Regions from separate parts of the Homo sapiens genome. Here region 1 is linked to region 2. The links are contacts of gene promoters, found by promoter capture Hi-C in blood cells and fetal thymus (Javierre and others, 2016). All regions are on one chromosome and are shown on one strand. Each heading gives the region's core, a stretch centred on a gene start or on the middle of the fragment in contact. The rest is flanking DNA. Distances are from core to core; before and after follow the strand shown. Region 1 overlaps KCNQ1 (potassium voltage-gated channel subfamily Q member 1). Region 2 holds the start of NAP1L4 (nucleosome assembly protein 1 like 4).

The links. The method cuts DNA at HindIII sites, captures the fragments that hold promoters and counts their contacts. A CHiCAGO score of 5 or more calls a contact.
Region 1: a fragment that was not itself captured here is called in contact with the fragment with the promoter of NAP1L4 in region 2 in 6 of 17 cell types (naive CD4 T cells, monocytes, non-activated CD4 T cells and 3 more); the score reaches 9.1 in naive CD4 T cells.

What each region holds. Positions count from the first base shown.
Region 1 is chr11:2,515,267-2,521,346 of GRCh38, reverse strand. All of the region lies in intron 1 of KCNQ1 (potassium voltage-gated channel subfamily Q member 1), which reads right to left. Among named protein-coding and RNA genes, the nearest start is that of KCNQ1, 73 kb to the right of the region's middle. RefSeq lists enhancers at 635-1,134, 1,135-1,636. The HindIII fragment of the contact is 5,693 bases long and covers 1-4,431 here.
Region 2 is chr11:2,989,282-2,995,621 of GRCh38, reverse strand. It overlaps NAP1L4 (nucleosome assembly protein 1 like 4), which reads left to right and starts at 3,293. Exons shown (of 16, transcript NM_005969.4): 1 at 3,293-3,368. RefSeq lists enhancers at 3,029-3,323, 3,868-4,724. The HindIII fragment of the contact is 4,981 bases long and covers 1-4,934 here.

The DNA.
Region 1 (6,080 bases), core at 336-2,835, 470 kb after region 2:
AGGCCCAGAGCAGCGAAATCCACCGTCGCAGGGAAGCGGACAGCGGGGCCGAGGGAGAGGGGATCTGTGGACATGGGGAGGACGGATCCACGGTTGCGGAGAGCAGGATGGCGGGGCCGGGGAGAGGGAGTGGGATTTCATGGGTGCAGAATTTCAGTTTGGGAGAGAAGTTTTGGGGTGGATGGTGGTGACGGTTGCACAACCATGTAAATGTACCTATTGCCACTGGGCCGTGACCTGACACAGAGTTAAGACGGTAAATTGTGTGTTATGTGTATTTTATCACAATAAAAAAAAAACTTTTTTTAAAGCAAACAACATTCATAGAGCAAGCATCAGAGGGTTCAAAATGTTCCCCGTGGCTGGTGAATGAGATCGAGCAATGTTCAAAGACCCCTACTGGGGACGGGACCTCGCCAGGCTGATAAGCAGACAATGGGTTTGTGAAGCGAACCTAAAGCCGAAGGCAGGATAGGGCCTTGAATGTGTAACTTCAAGAGATTAAATATTGACGCTTAAACCCCAAACCACTTCTAGGGGCTTAAAAAAAAAAGTCATCCTGGGAGACTCCAAATGCCTCCAAATCCCATGTGCCCCAGGAAGGAAACACTGGGCGCTGGAGAGGACAGGCTTCCCCTGCTCACTCACTGGTCACCAGCAGGTCTCCCTCCATCCCTGATGTGGCTGCCGGCTCCAGGGCTGCTGAGCTCAGAGCCCTGGGATGTGGACGCCCAGGGGCAGAGGTCTCACAGCCTGCCAGGGCTGTTCCCCAGGGCTGAATCTGCACCTCAGAAAAAGCTACCAGCTGGTCACCCCCCTCACCAGTGGCTGTCACCCCCCTCACCAGTGGCTGTCAGCAGGCAGCCTCAGCAGGGTTTGGAGGTCGCCAAGGTCCCCACAGGTTCACCTGCTTCCTGGCTCTGCATGGATGGAGCCTGGGCCAGGCATCTCCCGACCCCTCCCAAAGGGGTGAGCCCTGGCCCACACCGAGGGCCCCACGCTGGGCTGGACACTAGGCACAGGTTCCCCGCTCTGAACCCCATGTGGAAGGTGTCACATCATGGAAGTCCTGGTGAGGAGACAGAAGCCCTGGTGAGGCACGTCTGGTCCCAGGCTGCCCCCCAGAAGCCCCCTGGATTGGGGTTCAGGAGGCACTACCAATCGATGGGGACACTGAGGCTCAGACACAGCATGGGACGTGCCCAGACTGGCCGACTCCAGGGGCCCCAGCGCCACCACTTGGTGCCATGGTCCTGAGGCAGGAATGCCACATCAGGCCATACGTCATCCTGGGGGGTGGGGGCGACAGGGCCCTTTTCAGCCTTCCAGCCTCTGCGGGCTCCCGCGTCCTGGGTGGGTGGCGGCATCACTCCCGTGCTGTGCAGCATGTGGCCGGATCCTCCTTTGTTGAATCTGTCCTGTCTTTTAGGAGGACACGTGTCACTGGACTTGGGCCCCCTGGATAATGCAATCACGCCTCTCGGGACCCTCAGCCTCAGCTGCAAAGGGGTGTTTTCTATGTCAGGTCACATTTGCAGCTTCCAGGGATGGAAACCAATGTTGTGGGGGGGGGCCAACACCTGCTGTACTATGTAAGTATTTAATACATTACTTATGATCACTATTGGTAGATTTTGAATTCTTAAACAACAGAATTAGGTATTGGTCAAAAACATATATTAGTTGTTGTTGTTTTTTGGTTTTTTGTTTTGTTTTGTTTTGTTTTTGAGACAGAGTCTTGTTCTGTCACCCAGGCTGGAGGACAGTGGTATGATCCTGGCTCACTGCAGCCTCGATTTCCTGGGCTCAAGCGATCCTCCCAACTCAGTCTCCCAAAGTGCTGGGATTACAGGCGTAAGCCACCATGCCCGGCCTCATGTCTTAATTTTTAAAACATAATTAAAAATGTACTCAAAGCTCAGAGTTTCCTTTTCATCCTCTCACCTCCAGATCCTTAATGGAATTGCATCTGAAAAAATTCTTTTAAAAAGAGGGTCACGTCCACGCCCACTGGTGTCAGCACAGGGACGCCTCTCTCACCATTCAGCCCACAGGGCATCACCCGAACCCTGTCATGTTGGAGAGAAGGGAGCTGGGGGTGGTGATTCCCGGCACAGGCGGGACATGGCTGGCCCATCTGCAGCAGGCAGCTGCCACGTCGGGAGTAGGTCCATGAGGCTCCCTAGCACCCCAGCCCTTCAGGGACCGCCACTTCTCACCAGAACGGCAACAGCTGCCCCCCAACCATTGCCCCTCAGGCCCCCACACAGCACCCTGTCTGCCATTGTCCACACTGCCCAGCTGGTTGGCAGGGCCTTGGAAGCCCCTCCCCTGGCAGCCACAACAGGGCACAAACCACAGAAGGAGCGTGGATGTGATCCCACACCCGCTTCACAGACCCACAGCCTGGTCCTCCCCGTCCAGCTCCGGGTGAATGGACGCCTCCCCACCAGACTGGGCCTCCTTGGCCCAGGGCTCCCGTGGCCACCCCATGCCTCACGCTGTCTTATACTCTTTACCTGTGGCTTGTTCCGCGGCAGCTGAGTCTCATTTCTTTAAAAAGTTCTTGAAAGCCATGGGATCCCAGCCCAAGGGACACAACAATGGGTGACTTGGTGTGGCCGGTGGGTAAGATTTCTGCCCTCATTGTCTCCCGAAGCCCCAAGTGTGCTGTCCCCGTTAGACAGAGCCGCCAGCCCGCCTATCCAGGAGCCATCTGGAGATTAAACCTGTGTCCCACAGCAGGACCAAGGCTGTCCCCAGCCTCTTGGGGTTTCAGCTGACACTTTTTCCAACACAGATCTGGACTGGGAACCCCAAGAAACAGGTCCCTTCCTGCCAGCTTTCGGCTGGGTCCACACAGAACTCCTGTGCCTGCAGCACCTCCCCAGAGGCTGGTCCCCCTGCCGGGGCCACCAGGCCTGCACCCCAACTGCAGCCCACTCCCCTGGTCCCCCCGCCTCTGTCTCTCCTGTCCCAAGGCAGCGTCTACCCTCCCATGTTACAAGACCCCCCACATGAAGCCTGGACCCCAAACCCTCCTTCTGCGGAGGCCCTGGCCTGGGCTTCCCTGCCAGGCTCTCAGGAGGCCTCCGGCTCTGGCTTGCACCAGTTCATGGACCGCCAGGCAGCCACTGCCACCACTGCCTCCCCGACCAGAGCAGGGGCTCCCCAGGCAGGGGCCCACCAGCTGCATTCCCTCCCTCCGAAGGCCCAGTGCCAGGCGTGGGATGCACGTTTGTGAAGTGTTTGCTGAATGACTGATGGTGTGAATGAATGTTAGGGTAAACCCTCAAGCTCGGTGAATGAAGTCTCAGTGCCGCCTCCTCCATGCAGGCCTCCGGGTGAATCTGGAAGTGAGTTAGGCTCCTTAGACTCTGTTCTTTTCCTTCCTATCCCACCGCACACCACAGGCTCAGCCTAGCTCGCAAGTGGCCTTTGAGCAGGACGTGGTACTGAGGCAGCGTTCCGCCACCCCTCACCCCCAGGCTGCATGCCAACAGCACAGGTTGACAGATCGCTGGGAGCCTCCTGGGGTGGGCTCTGACGTGAGCTGCGGGCGCAGGCATGGCCCCCCCAGCAGGCAGGTGTGAGCGGGCAGGACGTGCAGGCATATGCTCCCAGGGCCATGGTCCCACTGGCCAAACCGGTCCCTCTTCCCTGAAGAAGCGTCTTAGGGGCTGCCCCAGAAGACCAAGTCAGGACAGGTGCAGGAGGTGGGGATCCTGCCAGGGGGAAACCCTGCCATCCCACCTGGTTGCCACGCCACATGCCTGGATGTCCTGGGACAAGGTCCTGCCTTTACTTCCATTCTGCCTGAGTCCTGCCAGACAGAGAGGTGAGGCGCCACAGGCCAGACAGTGACGCAGCGGGGACTCAACACGCGTGGGGCCCTGGGGAACGCGCCCCAAATCCAACCCGTCCCAGGGCTTCTCAGCCCTGAGCCCCCTTCGGTGCAGACAGAATGCCATGTCTCCCACCAGAGCCCTCCAGGGTGTCCCAGGAGCTTCCCACCTGGAGGTCCATCAGGTGCATCTCACCCCATCCCCATCGCCAGGAACCTGGATGCCCCCGCACCAAGAGGTGACAGGTGTGCATTCCCTCTTCAACGGCCCTGCAGGGTGGGGACTGATGGGTCCAGCTGCGCACGGGGCTCCTGGACGCTCAGGCCTTGCAGTGGGGATGAGGGCTGGCCCCGCCTGGCACCTACCAAGGGCTCATTCCCATCTCACCCGGACGCCCAGGGCCCTCGACCACACCTCAGTGCGGAGCGTGGAGCCTGGGCCCTGATCCCTCCTTTCCAGGAGCAGCCTGGGGGGTGAACACAGCCGTGCTTGAGGGCCCTGCCATGCCATCCCGAGTGTCACGTCAAAGCCCTTCAGAGGCCCTAGAGGGACAGGTGCTGGGGGACCCTCGGGCAGCCAGGAAGCTTCCCGGTGACACCAGGCAAACTCTGGGGGGTCGTGGCAAGGTGGGGGAGAGATCAGGAGGGGCCAGAACAATGTCCCTCCCCACCAGAAGAGCCCAGTGCAGCCCTGGCACACCTCTGGGCCAGAGAGGAAATGTCCTAGGCGTGGTGGGGCAGGTGGCCTCTGTGGCAATATTCGGCCGGGCATGGCTGTGTCCTAATAAAACTTTATCGACAAAATCAGGTGGTGGCCGTAGCATGAGGATCCCGGCAAAGAGTCCTGCTGAGAACCCAGGGCTCTGGCAGGATGGCATGTGGGTGTCTGCACCTGTGTGTTGGTTTCAGGGGACCCGCTACACAATCAGGAGCACCCAACAGTGGCATGTAAACATCAAGCAAGGGCAACCGAATTGGGAAGGTCCAGCTCCCTGTCCATCTCAAAGGCTTTCTGGGGGCCAATTTTGAGCCCGGAGATTGAGAATTCAAACAGGAACGTGTGCCCCCAGAGCTGGCCGCCACATCCCCTTTAAAAACAGGCTCTATGGTGGCCCCCAAGAATCCCGGTGGGTCAGCGGTCCCAGGCATGAGGGGACGCTGGGACTGAGCCATTTAAAGCCCACCTCCTCCTGTCGCCTCTAAACTTCATGAGAAGCCTGAGAAGTGGACCCATCCTTTGTTCACAGGAGAGGAGGAAGCTCAGAGAGGTTAAGGGACCTGCCTCAAGTCACACAGCATCGAGCGGTTGGCGAGAACTGGACTCCGGGTCTCCCTGACAGCATCACAGGTCCCCACAGCACCTCGAAGCACCCCGAAAACTACAACCCAGAAGTAAGCCTGGAGTGGTGGGCATCCAGGCAGCCTGGCCTTCCACAGGGAGATTCCAGCAGGAGCCCTGGCCTGGGCGTGGGCGGATAGGCCCAGGGGCTCAGTGAGGAGAGCTGTGGGATGCCCGGCCCCTGGGGTCTGGGCTGTCACTGCAGCCATGGCACACATAGAGGTGGTCAGGGCCTCAGCAGAGGACAGGGGTGGCCAGGCTCTGGGGTGCAAGCAGGAAAGGCATGAGCTTCTCCTGGGGCCCGGAGGGTGCAGGTGGCCCGGCAGAGCACAAGCCCCCCAGGGCCGAGGGCTGCTGGGAACGGGGCTCTGTGCTCCCAGGGCCGGCCACACCAAGCCTGGCTCCCTGGGCTGTGATAAGACACCCACAGAGAGTATATTTAGAAGGCGCCGGGAGGACAAACTGAAGTGACCCCATGGATGTGGCCCTATCTGCCCTAGGACACTCGTCTTGTCTCTGTGAGAGGCCTGCCTAGGGTGAGGAGGGGCTGGGCAGACCAGATGCACCTGTGCACCCCCCACCCCAGAAATGGCGAGGCTCTGCCTGGGCGAGGCCTGGTCCCAGCAGCCTTGTCCCCTCACCCCCACTGATGGCGGCTGCGCTGTCCTGGAGCAGAGGGTGGTGGTCTTGCTGGGCAGCAGGGGCCTCGGGGACGGGTGGGAGGGGTGGACAGGCCTCCCCGCCCCTGGGCCAGGGGCTCCGCCCTCCCTCACACAGGGCAGGCGTTAAAGCCTCCAAGAAGTGAATGAAATCATGTCCTTTGCAGCAACACGGATGGATCTGGAGACCATGATCCTAAGTGAACTACCGGAAACAGAAAACCAAACACGGCACGTT
Region 2 (6,340 bases), core at 2,044-4,543:
ATGGGTGTTTTCTGTTCTCCATATACCAGGAGAAACCAGCCACCTCTCTTGGATGTCTCCAGGGCCCCACTTTGTTAATGCCCCACAGGCTGAGCCCCCAGCCTACTGAGGGGGCTTTGGGCATTTCTGAGGCCTCGGCTCCAGCTCTTGGCGGCTGCGAGGTCTTTTGAGGAGTAGCGCCCCCACCACAGGTGAAGGGCATGGCCGCCCCCTCCAGGGCCAGAGCCACTTAGCTGGGGGCGTTAGAGGGGTTTCTCTGTTTTCTCCTCTGTTGAATGGGGCAGTGATTGCTGCCTCTACTTCCAGGCCAAGGTGTAGCCATTGTCAGTAGCGCCCAGGTAAGGGCACAGCTCGCCAAGTGCCAGGCACTTTTCCGGGTGCTGGCAATGTGAAGAAGAAACACGTGGTGTCTGTCCGGGACTGTCTCCCGGAGCCTCAGTGAGGACAAGGCAGCCAAGAGCAGAACTACAGGCAAGGTAGCCTCTGGAGGGGACTCTTGATCTCCAGGTTGGAGGAGGCTGAGGCAGCAGAGGGGTTGTAGACAGGTGGGCTCATGCCTGAGGCCTGGCAGAGGCAGCGCTGGGAAAACAGGAATGAAACTCACCAAGCGCCAGCTACCCTGGGAGTCCTGATCCCAGTGGCCCTCAGCTCTGGCTGCATGTCAGTGTCATCTGGGGACTTCTTTGTTTTGACACAGGGTCTTGGTCTTGCTCTGTCACCCAGGCTGGAGTGCAGTGGCATGATCACAGCTCACTGCAGCCTCTAAATCCCAGGCACAAGTGATCCTCCCACCTCAGCCTCTCAAGCAGCTGGGACTATAGATGCACCACCATGCCTAGCTAATTTTTAGATATTTGGTAGAGATGGGATCTCATCATGTTGCCCAGGCTGGTCTCGAACTCTTGGGCTCAAGCAATCTGCCCACTCGACCTCATTACCTAATTGCATCTGTGAAGACTCTATTTCCAAATGAGAATCTTCCAAGGAGAGAAACCACCAACCACCAAGAGAAAAACACCACCACCACAATCATTCCAGTTCCAGCAGATCTCCCAGGGAGCAGGTCCAGCTGCCCCCAGCCCCAAGGCCCAGCTCCCTCAGAGGATCCACCCACCCGGATGCCACCCCCACCAACCCCAACATCCAGGAGCAGGGGGATCCCATTACTGCAAATGGTCTTGAGACTTTATTAGATGGGAGGAAGGACCCTCCAAACTTCAAATGCCCAGGTTCTTGTGTCATTTCTATCATTGTTTATGCTTCCGCAAAGCATAAAGCATGACCTTTGTAGAAAAGTCTGAAAGTCTAAATAAGTAAAATAGGAATTGAGAGCACACACACCCTCTCCTAAAACACAGATGGCCAGACAGGACTGAGCACGCTGTGTGGGTCAGGCCTCAGCCATGCACCGGTCACCTCTGAGGGGTTTTTATGTTTTTTGTTTTAATTAGTTTTTTTTTTATTTTTTATTTTTTGAGATGGAGTCTCGCTCTGTCGCCCAGGCTGGAGTGCAGTGGTGCGATCTCGGCTCACACTGTAAGCTCCGCCTCCCGGGTTCACGCCATTCTCCTGCCTCAGCCTCCCGAGTAGCTGGGACTAGGGCGTCCGCCACAATGCACGGCTAATTTTTTTGTATTTTTAGTAGAGACGGGGTTTCACCGTGTTAGCCAGGATGGTCTCGATCTCCTGACATCGTGATCGGCCCACCTCGGCCTCCCAAAGTGCTGGGATTACAGGCTTGAGCCACCGCGCCCGGCCTTTTTTTTGTCTTTTTGAGACAATGTCCCCCTCTGGTTACCCAGGCTGGAGTGCAGTGGCCCAATCTCTGCTCACTGCAGCCTTGACCTCACGGGCTCAGGTAATTCTCCCACCTCAGCCTCCCAAGTAGCTGGTATTACAGGCCTGAGCCACCACGCCTGGGTAATTTTTTGTTGTTGTTGTTTTTGGAGCAGGGGAAGGGTGCTCTATGTTGCCCAGGCTGGACTTGTTGCCTCTGCCTCCCAGAGTGCTGGGTTTACAGGCCTGAGCCACGGCGCTCCGCATTAATTTCTTTTTAGAGATGAGGTTTCACTATGTTGCCCAGGCTGGACTTGAATTTCTGGGCTCAAGGAATCCTCCTGCCTCAGCCTCCCAGCTTACCTCTGAGGTTTATAACCGACGCTATGTTCTTAATCCCTCAACCAGGAGCCTTTAAATGGTTTCAAATTTTCCCCATTACAGGAATAACTTGCTAATAATAATAATAATTAGCAATTGTTTCAAAAGTAACGTCATCCCAAAAGAGAACGTTTCTGAAAAAAATGCACATTAGACTTGAAGACCCCCAATGGCACGGTTGAACATGGAAATGAACCAGCCTCAAAAGTCCCAGCGTAGGGGTTATTTTCCAATCAAATTGGATGCCTTTCTACAAAATGTGATGTGCACAGGCTGGGGCTGGTACCTTCACCCCAGCCCAGAGGGCACCATGAGAGGGAGAACAGGGCGGGCGAAACAGGCCAGCTCCTCCCCAGCCCTCTGCCCTGCTCTGCTTCAGGGGGCTGATCTGAGGGCCCAGTGCGCACTGCTTTTCCTCCTTGTCCGACAGGGTCTCCCGCAGGCCAGAACTAGGCTGCTGGGACACTGCGGGGCTCAGGGCGTGGGGGAAGAGATGCAGGCAGTGGCTAGTCCCGTCCTGTCCGCGGAGGTGACCCAGCCCCGACCTCTTCGCAGAGGAAGTGTTCTCCAACCTGGGACCTGGGGGATGAGCGGGGGTTAGGCTTACGTCCCAACCACTAACGGGGCTGGTTGAAAACGGCTCCCAGGCGGAGGGGCCCTCCGCGATGTTCTCAAGGAGTAGCGCGAGGGGACGACATGGGAGGTGGGGTTCTCACATCAGCGGGCGCACGGAGTGCTGGAGGCACCGACCCGCCGCGGACGGGATTGAACTAGGGAACTGGGAGGGCGCAGGAGATAAAGACGGCTGGGGCCGGGGCCCACGGAGAGGGGTGGTGCCCAGTGTCCCGCGAGGATGTGGTGCCACCCGGGGAAGGTCCCGGGAGCGGGGACCCGGGACCCCCCGGAACCACACACGCGGTCTCCACCTTGCCCCGCCCCATTTAAAGAGGCGGAGGAACGCAGGGCGCGCGCCGCGCGGAGGAATATTTGCATATGGCGCGGCGTTTCTTCGGAGGCTTGTGATTGGTTGCTGACTGCGGCGCGAAGCGCAGTTGACTTGCGCCGCGCTCGGCGAATCGCAGCCTGTCTTGCTCGCGGAGAGAGGAGCTAGGAGCCTCGGCCAATGGGAGCCGGCGTTGTTGGAGGCCACGGCGGCGCAGCCCCAAAGCGAGCGAAGCTAGGGTCGCCGCCACTGCCGCAGGAGGCGTGAGGTGCGGAGACACGGGTGCTGGGCCGGTAACGGCGCGCTGGGGAGGGCGGCCGGGCCCGGACGGGCGGGTGGGGCCGCGGGTCCGGCGCGGGCGCGGCGGCGGCCATCTCTGGAAGCCTCGGGGCGGTGGGGCAGGGGCGGGGCCGCGTTCTGGTCGGGGCAGGCAGCGGCGGCCGCGGCGGGGCCTGGGGCTTGGGGCCTGGAGCCCGGGCCTGGGGCGCTGGCGGGAGGCCCCTCCCAACTCCCGGCGCGCCTCGCCCGGCTGCCCGCCTCACTGAAGGTCAAGGCGCTTTGTTCTGCGCCGCGGGCGGCCTCCTGGGCGGCGGCCCCTTGGAGGAGGCGAAGACGGCGAGAGGCGGCGGCCGCTCAAATCTCCCGCTAGCCCAGCCCGCCCCGCGTGCGGGGGCTGTGGCGGTTACACGGCCGGGCGCGCCGGAGCGTTCAGGCTTCCCGTTTTTAAGGTGGAGACGTCCAGGACTTCTTTATTAGATGTTTAGGAATTTGAGTTTTTCCGTAGGGCGGTTGTCATCGTGAGCCTCTGTGGGGTCAGGCTGGGCTAACTGGGGTTTTGATGTCAGTTTGGTGTGGCCGAGGGCATGTCTGACGGGGAAGAAAGTCCTTGGCGTTGCTTCTTAGCTGTTGGGAGCTGTGCGGTGGGAGCGAGCTGGGCGGCGTGCGCTCCCCGAGGACTGGCCTGAGTGGCCTTAGACTAGTTACTCACGGGACTTGGTTTCCCAGCCAAGGTGGGCAGCAAGTCTGTTTACTATTTAAAACCGTCTTTCACAAGGGAAAAGCAAAATCTCCAAAAAAAAAAATTGTACATGTTATGGATGGGAAAGTGCCATGCTTTTCTTTCAGTTCAGAGATGGTGGAAGAGGTCACATTTGTATTTTTTGACCTGACCAGAGTCTTTGTTGTTTTCAATTTTCCCCTTCTGAATGCTTTCCGTTCACCCCAGCGAAGGATGGCCTGGTCATGATAAGACTTTCCACCGTCCACAGTTCTCTAAGTCTGATTGCGGGGCAGGAGGCAGACATGTTTAGGGTCCAGTAAAGGGGACTCCAGCCTTGGGACCTTTAGACCCTAACGTGTGTGTCACATCACCTGCCTGGGTGACTGTGCGCTCCTCTGGCAGGAAGGTCCGCCATTTCATTATGTTCTCGGAGGAATCGTCGGGGCACATTCGTCTGTGCTTTGGTTCGCATCCCCCAGTCTGCATTACTTTTTCCTGTAGTAACCCGTGCCTTATCCTCCTGCATTAGGTTTACGGGGTGAAAATAGACTTTTAAAAATTCTCTTACCTTAGAAATATACAAATATGTAGATTAGGTTGTTGGACCTTAAAGGTAAGTCTTTCTAAGTTACTACCTTCCTGTAATAGTAACTATACCTCTAAATGACTAATACCTGCACTGCGCACCAGGGACTCTTTCAGCCTGTTTGCGTGTGTTAACTCATTTCATAATCTAATAACCTGAGATAGATGCTATTGTTTTTCCATTTAACTACTCTGGAAGCTGAGGCCCTGGGAGGTTAGGTATAATGACTTGTCCGAGGTGACAAAGCTTAAAGACCCAGGCAGTTTTAACTGTACCCAGGGTTACTGCTTCTGTAGAGGGAATGAAAGAAGTTTTAATGAGAAATTGTTTTCATCATTGTGCTAAGCTTAACTGAACTCTAGCTTACGAGGTTTTGAGCTGGTTGATCATTTCCATCTCAAAATTCTCTTATTCCACAGAATGCCAAATGCCTCCTATAGTAGAATTTTGAGATTCAGACTGGGATGAGCAATTGCTAATGGAATAAATAATATGCAAATGTAAAATGAAGTTCAGAGAAAGCAACGTGGTGATAGAATGGGAAAGTAATCCAAAGATAAAATGAGTGACTACAGAGAGAGAGAAAATTAGTTATTTAGTAGTAGTTCACAAGTTTACTTAGAGATATTTTTACTAGAATTTCAGGGCCTTATGATGTGATTTTTATGAACCATTTTAACACGTTACTGCCGTCTTAAATAGCTGTTATTACATATCCAATTGCAGTCTTTTTTTTTTCCTGGTTGAGCAGTGTTAGCTTCAGAATGTCTGCAGTTATTTGTGCCTATATGTCATATAGGCACATATAACACTTTTGTGAATTTTGTTGTGTAAGCTTTAAATCCGGTACTGTTTTTCAAAATGAATATGGAGTAGTCATTGGAGAAATTGGTTGAATTCTTTGCAGTAGCAAATAAATTTTAATCATTTTTAAGTTTGATAACTTTGGTAAACTGAATTCTGAAAAGTTTACACATGTTTTAGGATGTCCTCAAAATGTACAGGGCATTGTGTTTTGCAAATTAGCCATTTAGCCATCAGATTCTTCTGTAGAATTTTGATCTTTTTGCCCATATGAGAGGTAGTTCTTATTTGTATGGAGGTTAAGTACCTGCGGATGGGATGTGTTCATCACCACTTTACAGTATGAATTTGAATTTGAAACTGAAATGAAAACTTCCTAACCTGTCAGAGTTTTTAGTAGCCTCTTGTTATTGACCGCATGTTAATTCCCTTTGTTAGCTATTCGCAGCTAAGTGTGGGGACTGAAATCTTTATTTTGTTTTCCTTCTTTTGAGCAGTTGATAGTCTCTAGCATCAGGAGGAGGTGACCTCAAATATGTATGTATATATAGTAGTGCTTTTCTTCCTTCCCTTTAGTTGTCTGCAGTTTAAAAATTATTGTGATAAGTTTATGTTGTACTTCCAAAAATGTTGCCAAAGAGCCTATATTTTTCAGTTTGTTTTGGAAGAAAAATACTTTGTGGGCAAGAAGGTGATTTAAATTCCTGACGGCCTAAGAGGCGTCAGCTGTGTGAAATAGGCGAGTGCTGTTACTGCTTGAAACCATGATGGTTTATATTTGAATAAGACAGCAGAGATGAGCTTGTTGGGAGTTTGGCCTGAGATTGCTAGCTAAGGAATGCTTGCTTTT